2 separate regions of the Homo sapiens genome follow, and region 2 is linked to region 1. Evidence: promoter capture Hi-C in 16 types of primary human blood cells and fetal thymus (Javierre and others, 2016). All regions are on one chromosome and are shown on one strand. Each heading gives the region's core, a stretch centred on a gene start or on the middle of the fragment in contact. The rest is flanking DNA. Distances are from core to core; before and after follow the strand shown. Region 1 holds the start of F3 (coagulation factor III, tissue factor). Region 2 overlaps SLC44A3-AS1 (SLC44A3 antisense RNA 1).

Region 1 (2,753 bases), core at 196-2,695:
TGCATAAAAAGAGGATTGCATGGCTTAGTTTTGCAAACATAAATTTTGTGGGTTTCAGAGCTGGCAGAGAGCTCAAAGAGGAAATCATCAAGGGCAACTTTCTGCTTCGAGGAAGGAAAGTCTACAAGGGCTAAACCTGGATGTGCTATTTCAGTTCAGGCAAAGGAGGAAAATTAAAATTTTGCACAGTTTTATTCTGTTAAAACAAGTGGTTCAGTAAGCTAAACGAGATATGTATATAGTATGCATTAAAATGCAAGACTGACTTCCCTGGGAAAACGTGGGAAAGAAGGAGAGAGGAAACAAACAATTCTTACACTAAGAATTCTCCAGTCGTGTCTTGCAGGCAATATAGAGTAATAATAATAAAAATGACAGGAGATACTTTGACAGGATGGCTTAAAATGCCACTCAATAGATGAAGAGTTGTTCTCATGCTTGGCAAGTTTACAGCAAAGCCCAGAAGGAGAAGCCAGAAAATAATTTAGAAAAACCAAAGCTTAAAACTAGTGGCACACAACTCTGGTTACATTTTTCATTTTCATTTTTGGTTCCTCTGCATTTCGGTGGAACTCAGTCCCACAGATGTCTTCTTCAATGTGGGAACCATCCTTTCTGGAACCACAGAGCTGCAGATGTCACGCTGGAATTCTCCCAGAGGCAAACTGCCAGATGTGAGGCTGCTCTTCCTCAGTCACTATCTCTGGTCGTACCGGGCGATGCCTGAGCCAACTGACCCTCAGACCTGTGAGCCGAGCCGGTCACACCGTGGCTGACACCGGCATTCCCACCGCCTTTCTCCTGTGCGACCCGCTAAGGGCCCCGCGAGGTGGGCAGGCCAGGTATTCTTGACCTTCGTGGGGTAGAAGAAGCCACCGTGGCTGGGAGAGGGCCCTGCTCACAGCCACACGTTTACTTCGCTGCAGGTCCCGAGCTTCTGCCCCAGGTGGGCAAAGCATCCGGGAAATGCCCTCCGCTGCCCGAGGGGAGCCCAGAGCCCGTGCTTTCTATTAAATGTTGTAAATGCCGCCTCTCCCACTTTATCACCAAATGGAAGGGAAGAATTCTTCCAAGGCGCCCTCCCTTTCCTGCCATAGACCTGCAACCCACCTAAGCTGCACGTCGGAGTCGCGGGCCTGGGTGAATCCGGGGGCCTTGGGGGACCCGGGCAACTAGACCCGCCTGCGTCCTCCAGGGCAGCTCCGCGCTCGGTGGCGCGGTTGAATCACTGGGGTGAGTCATCCCTTGCAGGGTCCCGGAGTTTCCTACCGGGAGGAGGCGGGGCAGGGGTGTGGACTCGCCGGGGGCCGCCCACCGCGACGGCAAGTGACCCGGGCCGGGGGCGGGGAGTCGGGAGGAGCGGCGGGGGCGGGCGCCGGGGGCGGGCAGAGGCGCGGGAGAGCGCGCCGCCGGCCCTTTATAGCGCGCGGGGCACCGGCTCCCCAAGACTGCGAGCTCCCCGCACCCCCTCGCACTCCCTCTGGCCGGCCCAGGGCGCCTTCAGCCCAACCTCCCCAGCCCCACGGGCGCCACGGAACCCGCTCGATCTCGCCGCCAACTGGTAGACATGGAGACCCCTGCCTGGCCCCGGGTCCCGCGCCCCGAGACCGCCGTCGCTCGGACGCTCCTGCTCGGCTGGGTCTTCGCCCAGGTGGCCGGCGCTTCAGGTGAGTGGCACCAGCCCCTGGAAGCCCGGGGCGCGCCACACGCAGGAGGGAGGCGACAGTCCTGGCTGGCAGCGGGCTCGCCCTGGTTCCCCGGGGCGCCCATGTTGTCCCCCGCGCCTACGGGACTCGGCTGCGCTCACCCAGCCCGGCTTGAATGAACCGAGTCCGTCGGGCGCCGGCGGGAGTTGCAGGGAGGGAGTTGGCGCCCCAGACCCCGCTGCCCCTTCCGCTGGAGAGTTTTGCTCGGGGTGTCCGAGTAATTGGACTGTTGTTGCATAAGCGGACTTTTAGCTCCCGCTTTAACTCTGGGGAAAGGGCTTCCCAGTGAGTTGCGACCTTCAATATGATAGGACTTGTGCCTGCGTCTGCACGTGTTGGCGTGCAGAGGTTTGGATATTATCTTTCATTATATGTGCATCTTCCCTTAATAAAGAGCGTCCCTGGTCTTTTCCTGGCCATCTTTGTTCTAGGTTTGGGTAGAGGCAATCCAAAAGGGCTGGATTGCTGCTTAGATTGGAGCAGGTACAACGTTGTGCATGCCCCGTATTTCTACGAGGTGTTCGGGACGGCGTAGAGACTGGGACCTGCTGCGTACTGGCAAAGCAGACCTTCATAAGAAATAATCCTGATCCAATACAGCCGACGGTGTGACAGGCCACACGTCCCCGTGGGTCTCTGTGGAAGTTTCAGTGTAGCGACATTTCAGATAAAAGTGGAAAAAGTGAAGTTTGGCTTTTTTCATTTGTATGCAGTCCTAACTCTTGTCACACGTGTGGGATTTATCTTTTTCCATAACTTACTGAAAACCCTTCCTGGCGGGCTGAACCTGACTCTTCCTGAGCTGAGTCCTGGACTGGCACACTGATGGCTCTGGGCTCTTCCCGGTCAAGTTATAACAAGGCTTTGCCCATGAATAATTTCAAACGAAAATGTCAAGATCCTTGCCGGTGTCCTGGGATTACAAGGTGAATCTTGTCATGAAGAAATTCTAGGTCTAGAAAAAATTTGAAGATTCTTTTTCTCTTGATAATTCACTAATGAAGCTTTTGTGGTTGAAAAATAAAAAGTGAGGTTTATGGTGATGTC
Region 2 (2,721 bases), core at 62-2,561, 94 kb before region 1:
AACCAGGAATTCCCTGGAAATAAGATCACAAATCTAGGGGGAATCCTGCTTATGGATATTCTGGGTGATTCCAAAACCTTAGTTATTGGAAACTCTGATTCCAAACTTGAATGTTTCTTTTCCATGCATGCTCTCTCATCCTGTGGGCAAGAATCATGATGAATTTACTGTTTTTAGAGCTTATTACTACTCTAATGTCAAGCCAAGGTATATTTAAAAAAAAAAAAAAAAAGGTTTGCCATCACTCATGTGATATTCTGTTCTGTCAGGGACTTCTGTCAAACCATGATTGTTGGAACAGCTTTGCCTCTCTGGAAAGCAGCTTGCTAGAGAGACTTGCGGTAGAGAGGGAGGGTCATGGCCAGATGCCGAAAGCAACATTTACATATTTAGTGAAGGCCCAGGCTTTACTCCTTAGTAGCTATGTGATTTTGGATAAGTTACCTAATTTCTGTGAACCTCTATGTCTTCCTCTGAGAAACAATGATAAGGACACTTACCTCAAAAGGCTGACTTGAAGCACAAGCAAACAGTGGACATGAGAATACTTGGTAAACTATGAAGTGACCCACAAAGAAGGGTATTGTCATTTTACCCTTTCCTCTAGTCCTCAGTGGAACTTTCCTTATCTTTTCAAACCTCTTCCCAGACCCCAATCCCATGAGATCCCCTTCCTTCAGCAAGATCTCACTGCATGACGGCAGTGTTGGGAGTCCTCTACCAAAATAATACTCTACCAAAATAATAGTATTCACCAAGCTTACGCTTACGAAGAGCCATCATGGTTATTTCTTGACTTTATGGAATCATTCAGTTTCTGCTGCATGGCAGCTGCAGTGGGAAGCCTGCACAAACCTAGAGAAAATGATTTAGAATCACATAAGAAAGCCTTGTACATCTGTTCGAGGATGGCAAGTAAGCTGTATTTTGCACTCCAGTTCCAAATGATTGGTGTTGGTTCTGTGCAACACTGGTCTGTGAAGGAGCTCAGGCAACTTGTTGGAAGGACAGTGGGGGGCGATTGATTAGTCATGCTGCCATGGATGAGATACAGTAAAGGGGCACTCCTCTACTCCCTTACTCCCTAAATGGGCATTCCATTTACAATACCATCAAAAAGAATAAAATACTCAGGAATAAATTTAACAAAAGAAGTGCAAGACTTGTACACTGAAAATTACAAAATTACAAAATACTCTTGGGATTTAACACACCTCATCTAGTTCCAGCTTCTTATTTTACAAATGAGGAAACAGATATTCAGAGTTGAGGTAAGTCCAGCAAGATCATACAATCAAGGAGCAGCAGGGTTGAATCCAAAATCCAGCCCTCTAGCTTTCCATTTGAGTATTGTTTTCAACATCAACTCTTTTTTCACTCTCTCATAAGGTCTGTAGAGGGCTGATTTTTATGAGACAAGGAGAGATTAGGGACCTGGCTGGTCTGTGTAATGCCTGATACATGGTTCATGATAACCAGCTGCTCCCCGCTCCCAGTCTGGTTTCTGATCTCTCTGCCCCCTCCCAGCGGGACTGCAAACCACAAGCTGTTTCAGCCCCAGCAGGAAGAATGAGGGGGCCTTCCCATACAGAAATCCCCAGTGATGCCCTGGGGGCCTGGACTCCTGTTCCTGTGCCTGAATTCCCTTCTCCCTATAATTTTATTGCCTCCATCGTTCTTATCCCAGTTTGGACAGGCTCGAACTTGTGATGGTTTGCTTTTATTTTTCTCTCAGAGTGATGTTGATATAAAGTGCATTTATTTCTATTTTAAAACAGTCTTCCTAGCTAAACTGATTTATTCTGTGAGAAAAGACAGTCACGTGTGAATGTGACTAGAAGGAAAAAGGGACCAGAAAGCTTTTTTTGTTTTGTTTTATCAAGAGATTAGCTTCAATTTAAAAATAAAATAGAATAAACCTTTGCTCAACTGATACATTTACCTTTTGCTTGGGACGAGGACCTGGCCTAATGCCAGGCTTATCATGCTGGTCATCACCTCCTCCTGAAATGCTCTACATCCTCACCACGCCAAACTCTGTTATTTCTTTATGTGTTTAAAGTCCTCCTTTGACTTGGGGTACAATGAAGAAGATTCGTTTTGTTCAACAGTTATTGAGAATCTACAGTGTGTCTAGCACTGGGCTTGGCACTCAGGATTCAAAAAATGAGTACAGGCTGGGCTCAGTGGCTCACGCCTGTAATCTTAGCACTTTGGAAGGGAGGCCAAAGTGGGCAGATCGCCTGAGGCCAGGAGTTCGAGATCAGCCTGGCCAACATGGTGAAACCCTGTCTGTACTAAAAATACAAAAATTATCTGGGCGTGGCAGTGGGCACCTGTAATCCCACTGAGACTACTTGAGAGGCTGAGGCAGGAGAATCACTTGAACCCAGGAGGCGGAGGTTGCAGTGAGTCAGGATCACGCCATTGCACTCCAGCCTGGGCAATAAAAGTGAAACTGTCACAAACAAACAAACAAACAAACAAAAGAGTACTACAATAAGGCCCCCACCTTTGGGAAAATAACTGAGCGAACACAATGAGCCAGAGGAAAAAAGCTAAGCCTCGCACCCTATTACCTATCTACCTCATTTAGTTCTCATCCTGAAACTACTCTTCTTGTGGTCATGAGCTGTATGTCTTTTGTTCTCCACTCTATCCTCAGCACCAAATGCAGTGCCTGGCACAAGGTGCCCAGGAAAGACTATTGACTGAATAACT

What was found. The method cuts DNA at HindIII sites, captures the fragments that hold promoters and counts their contacts. A CHiCAGO score of 5 or more calls a contact.
Region 2: a fragment that was not itself captured here is called in contact with the fragment with the promoter of F3 in region 1 in 4 of 17 cell types (M1 macrophages, M2 macrophages, monocytes and 1 more); the score reaches 6.8 in M1 macrophages.

Annotation. Positions count from the first base shown.
Region 1 is chr1:94,540,451-94,543,203 of GRCh38, reverse strand. It overlaps F3 (coagulation factor III, tissue factor), which reads left to right and starts at 1,445. Exons shown (of 6, transcript NM_001993.5): 1 at 1,445-1,667. The coding sequence starts at 1,568. It overlaps LOC124904223 (a long non-coding RNA gene), which reads right to left and starts at 1,230. Exons shown (of 2, transcript XR_007066234.1): 1 at 1-1,230. RefSeq lists a silencer at 1,246-1,525. The HindIII fragment of the contact is 2,211 bases long and covers 502-2,712 here.
Region 2 is chr1:94,633,925-94,636,645 of GRCh38, reverse strand. The region is part of intron 4 of SLC44A3-AS1 (SLC44A3 antisense RNA 1); the gene reads left to right. LOC105378861 (a long non-coding RNA gene) reads right to left here. Exons shown (of 3, transcript XR_001738160.3): 2 at 765-855. Among named protein-coding and RNA genes, the nearest start is that of MIR12133, 92 kb to the right of the region's middle. The HindIII fragment of the contact is 1,100 bases long and covers 762-1,861 here.